2 separate regions of the Homo sapiens genome follow, and region 1 is linked to region 2. The links are contacts of gene promoters, found by promoter capture Hi-C in human tissues and cell types (Jung and others, 2019). All regions are on one chromosome and are shown on one strand. The core of a region is centred on a gene start or on the middle of the fragment in contact, and the rest is flanking DNA. Distances in the headings are between cores, read along the strand shown. Region 1 overlaps SP4 (Sp4 transcription factor). Region 2 holds the start of DNAH11 (dynein axonemal heavy chain 11).

Region 1 (4,000 bases), core at 1,327-3,826, 54 kb after region 2:
TAGTTTTTATAGCAGATTTCTCTGCTAAAAACTTCTGCCTTTCCATTGATTTCAGTCACGCTTATCTTTAGTCCATGGATCATGGCTATAAGAGCTGCTTTAAAGGTCTTATCTGATAATTCCGAAATCTAGATCATCTTGACATCTGTTATCTTCTCTCTTAATAAAAAGTCAGCTTTACGTGGCTCATAGTATGTTGAGTAATTTTGGACTGTATCCCGGACATTTTGGACATTATATTGCAGAGACTTTAGGCCCTGTTAAAAATTCTCTGGAAAATGTTTTTGTTTTAGCAGGCACTCAACCCGTTTAGGTTCAGACTAAAAGTTCCATCTTGCCCTCTTTGAGCAGCAGTTCCAACATTAATTCACTTTTCAAAGGCTTTGTTATGCTTTTTGTCTCTGCTCAGCACATGCTGGGAATTGGATGGTGGTTTTTAAGATGTTTAGTTCTTGAGGCCTTTGCTGTGGTTCTTTGTGTCTGTGCTGTGCATGCAATGCTCAAGGTTGAGCCCAGTGCAAGGTTGAACCCAGGACTTCTTTTGATCTACACACAGAATTAGGAAGCATCTTTTATATCGCTCTCAAAATTTCCCCTATGCCTTTCCAACCTCCAGTTGTCTCACCTTCTAGTTCCTCCGGCTAGAAAAGCCAAGTTACTGGGGGCTCCCATAATGTTCTGCACTTACACCACGACTGGGACCACCTTCAGAGTAGAAGTGGCAAGACAGAAAAATGATGTTGATTTACCTCAGATTTCTTGGAAAACAGACTCTATTTTCTAGTTCCCCTAGCCAGAGATATGGGTATTTTCTAGAGATTTTTTGGTGCCTAAGCTGCTACTATTTCAGTGTAATCTGCAAATGGAACTGGTTTTGGAGCAAAAGGCCCCTTTTCTTGCTTTTCTGGTTAGATACAAGAGGTTTCTCTTAGATTGTTTGCTACCTGCACCTGCTATGCAGTGCCCGCAGGGTTAAACCTGGGAGACAAAGGAGGGAAAAAGATCTCTATGAAATGAACACATATGATACACTGTTATTCAAATTCAAGTTTTCACTTCATTTCTCAATTGCCTGCTATAGTTTGCTTTTCATTGTCCTCATTTAGATACTTAAGAAAACAAATAAGTAAACTTGTCCAGAGTTTTTAGTGTAGTCAATGGAACAGACAAGTTGTAGATAACTTGGTCCATTCTGGCCAACAGTGGACACAAAGGGCAACAGTTTTGATGTTTCACATACTAATTAAAACATTTATATAAGAAAATTCTGGGGCTGGGCACTGTGGCTCACACCTATAATCCCAGCACTTTGAGAGGCTGAGGTGGGAGGATCACTTGAGGATAGGAGTTTAACGCCAGCCTGGGGCTGGGCACAGTGGCTCACGCCTGTAATCCCAGCACTTTGGGAGGCCGAGGCGGGTGGATCCAAGGTCAGGAGATTGAGATCATCCTGGCTAACACAGTGAAACCCCATCTCTACTAAAAATACAAAAAATTAGCCGGGTGTGGTGGCGGGCGCCTGTAGTCCCAGCTACTCGGGAGGCTGAGGCAGGAGAATGGCATGAACCCAGGAGGCGGAGCTTGCAGTGAGCCAAGATCATGCCACTGCACTCCAGCCTGGGTGACAGAGCGAGACTCCATCTCAAAAAAAAAAAAAAAAAAAAAAAAGAAAAAAGAAAAAAAGACCAGCCTGGGCAACATAGCAAAAACCCACCTTTAAAAAAAAAAAAAAATTAGCTAGGTGTAGTGGTGTAGGCCTGCAAGTCCCAGCTACTCAGGCAGCTGAGGTGGGAGGACTGCTTGAGCCCAGGAGGTCAAGGCTGCCGTGAGCTATGATCACATCACTGCGTTCTGGCCTGGGTGACATGGTCTCAGCAACAACAACAACAACAAAATTCTGTGAGAAAACTTCAACGAAATTGATGGAGTTTTCTGTTTCATCTGTTTTGATCAAATATTCCTTATTTTGTTAAAAAAATTGAAGTTTCATTCCCAAATGAATTTTACAGAATCTGTTTCATTTCCACTTAAGCTTATAATTATTGATACAATTATAAATACATTTAACTTTATATAAAATTGTATCTTGGCTAAAACACTAAGTCGTCATATATTATAAAGAACCTATACTGCAGTTGCACAAGACTTTTTAGGGGCTCTTTTGAAAAGGATTTTTTCTTAGCTGGTGAAAAAGAATTTGAGATCTGGTTAAAGATCCCTATAACACTAGTTGCTAAAAATCATCCCTAGATTGCCTTACTTCTAAGTGGATTATGAATGGCAAATAAAACAGTCCAGTAAGTAGGCAAAGTATCTACAATAAAATATTCACAAAGTACACTATATTAACACATGTAACATAAAAGTGTGCATATCTATATGACATCGTTATTATAGACATTATCCATTTAGTTGTATCATTATAGTATTTCCAAGTTATCAGTATTTTTTTTTTAAGAGACGGGGTCTTGTTATATTGCCCAGGCTGGAGTGCAGTGGCTATTCACGGGATCATAGGCACTATAGCCTCGAACTCCTAGCACAAGCAGTTCTCCCGCCTCAGCCTCCTGAGTAGCTGGGACTATAGGTGTGCACTACTGCACCTGGCTAAATGTAACCCTTTAAAGTTTAAGAGAGCAGCATGATTACATGTGTTTGTTTATTCTCCCCACTGAGACACCCATTAAAATAATAGTAAAGGCATAAAAGGGTTAAATCTACAATAACAAAAAAAAAAAAAAAGGAAAGGAAGTCCATCAGCAAAACAATGATTATATCAAATGTCTGCAAACTAGAAAATAAATTGTCAAGGAAGAGAATATGTTCTAGAAGACAGTCAATGTCTTCTGCTGGGAGGGAGACATGGAACATAAAACAAAATTAAAGTCCATACATAGACTATAACTACTATCAAAAAATTGGGGCAAAATGTTAATATTAAAGATTTGTATCTTAAAAAAACATGGTTGCACAGCATATTATTGTATTTTGGTAATTAGGCATCTTCCAGTGTAACACAGTGTTCCACCCAGTTACCTAAAATAAAAGCCACTAGCTTGGCAGAGGCAGTGGCTCACACCTATAATCCCAACACTCCAGGAGGCTGAGGAGGATGGATTGCTTGAGCTCAGGAGTTCAACACCAGCCTGGGCAACACTGAGAAAAATCTGTCTCTGCAAAAAATAGAAAAATTAGCCAGGTGTGGTGGCATGCACCTGTGGTCCCAGCTACTCGGGAGGCTGAGGTGTGAGGATCACTTGAGCCTGGGAGGTGGAGGAGGTTGCAGTGAGCTGTGATCGTGCCAGTGAACTCCAGCCTGGTGACAGACAGAGACCCTGTCTCAAAAAAACCAAAACAAAACGCCACTAGCTCATAAAGTTTTCAAAATCTTTCACTTAAGATTTCATCAAATCACCACCATGACCACCACCACCACCACCACCACCACCACCACCACCATCATCATCATCATCATCATCAACTTGAACAAAAACAAAGAATCACTGGACAATTCAGGAACGCCTACAACACTGGAAAAAGATACAGACAAAAAAATCATCCTGGAGGAAACATAAAATTCTAGATTAAAAAACTGAGATAATTTCAGCAAGCACCTGCATCCATACAATGAGAACAAAATGCAGTAAAACAAAACAAAACCCACCAACAATGATGGAATACACTATTGGAAATTAAAATGCAATTCAATAGAAATATCTGAAAGTAAACTTAAAAAATTTCATGGAAAATAAAATGGTAATGAGACAAAAGATATAAGAGAAAAACTGTAAGACCAAAAAAAAAAAAAAAACCCTAGAGATTCCAAAATATGTCTACTAAGAGCCCAGAGAGACAGAGAGAGAGAGACAGAGAAAGAGAGAGAGAGGGAGAGAGGTGACCCAGAGTACAAGTCATTAGCACAACAAATAAAAATCTATTCTCAGATACAGCATTATGAAATTAGCAGCACACCACAGATTAAAAGGCGCCCTTAGCGTTA
Region 2 (4,150 bases), core at 795-3,294:
GAAAAGTCATTTACTCCAATGCTTTCAGTAATCTTCTTGGAAATAAAAACAAGTTTATGGTTTGCATCTCTTGGAATCTAAAACAAGAGCAAGATAATTAGTTCAAGTAGTTTTCTTGTTAACAAGCAGGATTTACTATATCCAACTTGTAGCTGTATTGCTAGCAGAAGAAACAAAACCTGGCATCTTGCCTGCCCTATAAACAAGGTCCTTCTACGGCTCTTCCCTAGTATGCAGCGAGTATACAGTTTTCTTTGTTCTTTTATAATGCTAATTTCACAGCATTACTGGTGTGGAAATATCACCTTTTAAAGGCATGCCAATTATACCAGTTCATTATACACCAAAAAAAAAATCTTATAACTAAAAACAAATAAGGAGCACGTAGGCATGTAGAAATGTTTCAATCCTAAAGGGTTATTTTTTATACTCTTCTCTGGTTTGGAAATAAGCCAAACTGAGATAAAGACAAGCCCAAGAGGTTAATTTGTATTTCTATCAAAGAATAGAACCGTATAACCAAAACATGCTAACATTTCCACAACTACTGAGTCATTCCATTGAACATTATAATAACTATTTAACTTAGGTAATACTAGAGTTGTGTTCTATCGCCTTGTCTACTGACAAACTTATTTTTTTTAAAGTTACAATTAGGAGAGTCCTAAAACAAAAGAATTCAAAATTCACAATACCATAAGGCAGCCTTCCTATTACTCTTTCTTCTCTGAGATCCTATTTCCCAACTATTACAATGACCACACCTAGTGATAAAACGACATAACATGTTAAACTGAGCATTGCGCTACTTAAAAATTGTGAATCTTGCTCCAAACTCATCATACTTGAAAAATACTAAATACAAGTGCTGTACGTTAGGTGATACGTTAACCTTTTAGTGGACAAATCATCGAAATTCAAAAAGAAAAGGAAGAAAAAGAAGAAAGGAGGGAACTGTTCCCTCTAAATGTTCAGTAAACACCCATGTGTGCGGAGATTGCAGGGGCCTTCCTTTTTAAGGACTTAATGTTTTTGCCTGGGGTGAAGTGTTGTTGGCACGTAATCAAAATACGTGACGAGTTACATGCGCTCTGCCAAACACCCCATTTTTTAAAGGATGTGACTCCAGAGTGACCCAAGAGCAACTGAAACGCAAGTTTTTTGGCACAGAAAGCCCACCTGGCGCCTAACACCCAAGCAGCTAAAGAAAGCGCTGGTGTTCTTGGGTTATCCTGGTCGAACAGGCTCAACGCGGGATTCTCGGTCAGATACAAACTGCTGACTTAGGAAACTAACCTGCAGCTGCTGAACTGCAGAGTGGGTGCACGTGGGGAGGAGTCCTGCGGGCCTCAGGATGGGGACTTCAAGCCAAGTTTGTTAAAGTGCCCGAGTGAGCGCCCCGCGGGAATCCAAAGGGGAGCGACTGGGCTGTCTCCCCTGGGTAGTTTTGTTGGATGGGCAGGTCCCCTTGCCCGTCGCCTCTTACCTCCTGGGAAGCCGCAAGGCGCCCCGAGGCGGCGAAGCTAAACACAAGGCAAGCCGGGCTGGTGCTTTCCAGAAACTCCCCAAGAACCTGCCGGTTGTCCTCGCTTTCCAAATACTGGCTCCATTTCTCCTCCGTGAACCCCAGCATCATCGCCAGGCGGCCGCCGAGGAAGCGCACCCGCGCGTCTTGGGCGAAACTCCGCGCTCTCCTGGCCGCCGCCTCCTCCTCGTTCTCCTCCTCCTCCTCGAGCTCCACAGCGCCCACTGCCTCCAGGCCGGCCCCCGAGGTTAGGCGAAGGGTCGGGGCTTCTCTGAAGTCTCGCGCCTCCCGGGCTGCCACCTGGGCTGCCATTGGGCAACCGTCCGAGGGAACGCGAGGCCGGCTGGCTCCTCACCCGAGACTCTGGGCCCCCCGAAGTGAGCGAGGACACCTCCGCAGGCGCCCACCCTCCTCCGCGGTCGCCGCGAGCGCAGACCCTAGTCTCCCACCTGCTGCTACTTAGCAGCCGCGCCACTGCGCACAGCTGTAGCCTCGCAGGCCGAAGCGAAGGCCTGGGACAAGCAGCGCGTCCCGTTTCCCGGGGGACGGTGTCCCCGCCCCAGCCCGCTGGGGGCGGAGTGAGCGCACCGCGCCACCGCCCAGTATACGCCAAGGCCAAGGCCGAGGGGAGAGGCCCTCGGGCTCTAGGTCCCGAACACGGCCGAGAAGCCGCGTGTCCGGGGTGGGTCTGAGCCCCCAGTGCGCTCGCTCCACTGCCCTCCGGCTCCTTCGCCTACTGGACACTTGGTGGAGATCCCAGCATTGGTTAAGTGCTCTGGATGAAGCAATGCTCTCTTGTGCCAAGGTCCGTGCTAATCTCTTACCTTGACTAGTTGACATAATCCGTAGAAAGCCAAGTCTCTGACTGGTCAGTCTTTGTTTTATGGGCAAGGAACTAAGTTACAAAAATAAGTAACAGAGAAGTTTCGGGGCCCAAGTTGAAGGCTGTTATTCACCTTTCCCAAGGTGTCCAAATATTACCAGAAGAGAGCCAGTCCTGCAATTCAACTTTCCTAGTTGTGGGAATCCAAGATCTAAGTATTCGAAGTCCTCCTGATTGCCATCCTCAACCTGAAACTTACTGGAACTTCAGTACACCCAGTAAGAGAACGCACAGTGCCCTTTCGTGATCTCCAAAATGTTCCGAAAATCTATAGATTTATCATTTAATTCAAGAGTAAAAAGGTCAAAGAGAAAAAGCTTCAGATTAAAAACAGTTTCATGATACTGAAATAGGATTTCACTGCGGTCCATTAGTGGCTTTCGTTGAGACTCTTATGGAAATTCTAATTATTAAAGCAACCAGAATTTTGAGGAGGAGTCCTCAACTAAACTTTTAAGTCTCCTTTGTTAATTGTTTATTTCAAACTAAAGTCTTCAATCCCCACCCCTTCCATGGGGGCTACTGAAGGACTGTTGCCCACAATAATCCATTTAATACCTGAATGTTGACAGACATTTCCAGAAGATGAGGCTTCAACAATTTTTTTCTTTGCAGGATATTAACTGCCCCTGAAAACCATCGACAAGTTTCCAGTTATGTGATCAGAATCTTGAAATAACACAGGGCCTTGGAAAACTTTGATAATGACTTCTAACCTGTCAAGGCTGCTTTATATTGTCCATAATAATCTTTGGGGCTCCCAGTTGCTGGTATACAAGGCTGGCAATCACCAGTTCCTTCTCTCCCCTCTTATATTCCAGCTTCACATCCCTGTAACCTAGAAAACCGGGAATTCTGTAAATAATAGTTGAATTAAATTGAAAGTGAATAACCACTTTCAAATCTAGCAGGAAAATTTTTTAAATGATGCTAACTTTAAAGTGCAATTTCCAAAAAGTTAACTATGTAACTCGAAATATAAGATGAAGATATGTCAAAGATTGATTTAACTCATAAATGAGGAAAGCAACAAAATGATGTAAGTTCCAAGGACAGTTCGAGAAAGAAATTTAGCAGCATTGGAGGAAGACAGGATGAGTCAGCTTGCTAGGTTCAAAACAACACTCACTAATGTCATACAGGGCAAAATAATCCTTTGTTTTTTAAAAAATAATTTGTTTTTCCAAAATAAATTACATCTGTATTGAACAAAAATCTGTAAATAAAAACGTAACTTCAGAGTTTGAGACTTCGATCAGTAGTAGTTAATGAGTCCAAAAAAGATACTTTTCCCTAAATAATTAATAATCCTTTCATTGGCCGGTGAAGCAGTGTTTCAATGTGACAGTGAATGAACATGGCTTTACCTTGTTCCCAAGTTTTATGTATTTTTTCTCAATAATAATAGCTAACATTGATCAAGTACCAATTATGTGCCATGTGCTGTGCTGAGTTCATTCATTTGTCTAACAAATCTTTACTGAATGCCTACTAAGTGCCAAGCACTGTTCTAGGTGCTGGGAAATATAACAGAAAACAAAACAGATTAAGTTTCTACCCTCATATTGGAGATACAGGCTAGATTTCTACTGAATAGAGTGGAGCTATACCAACTGAATTTGCATTCCATTTCTATTTTCTAGGTGCCTGAGTTTCCTCACCAGAAATAGGAAAAAAAAAATGGTAGATGAGACTATTTTTTAGCAAATATCTCTCCCCCAACCCCACCTTCATGAAAAGAG

What was found. Contacts are between HindIII fragments. The study calls those that stand out against the background at their distance.
Region 1: a contact is called between a fragment that was not itself captured here and the fragment with the promoter of DNAH11 in region 2, in 1 of the 25 tissues and cell types used here (neural progenitor cells).

Annotation. Positions count from the first base shown.
Region 1 is chr7:21,487,222-21,491,221 of GRCh38, reverse strand. All of the region lies in intron 5 of SP4 (Sp4 transcription factor), which reads right to left. Among named protein-coding and RNA genes, the nearest start is that of MIR1183, 18 kb to the right of the region's middle. The HindIII fragment of the contact is 6,302 bases long and covers 1-4,000 here.
Region 2 is chr7:21,540,933-21,545,082 of GRCh38, reverse strand. DNAH11 (dynein axonemal heavy chain 11) reads right to left here and starts at 2,044. Exons shown (of 82, transcript NM_001277115.2): 1 at 1,487-2,044; 2 at 1-77. The coding sequence starts at 1,837. RefSeq lists a silencer at 2,123-2,172 and an enhancer at 2,221-2,722. The HindIII fragment of the contact is 7,632 bases long and covers 1-4,150 here.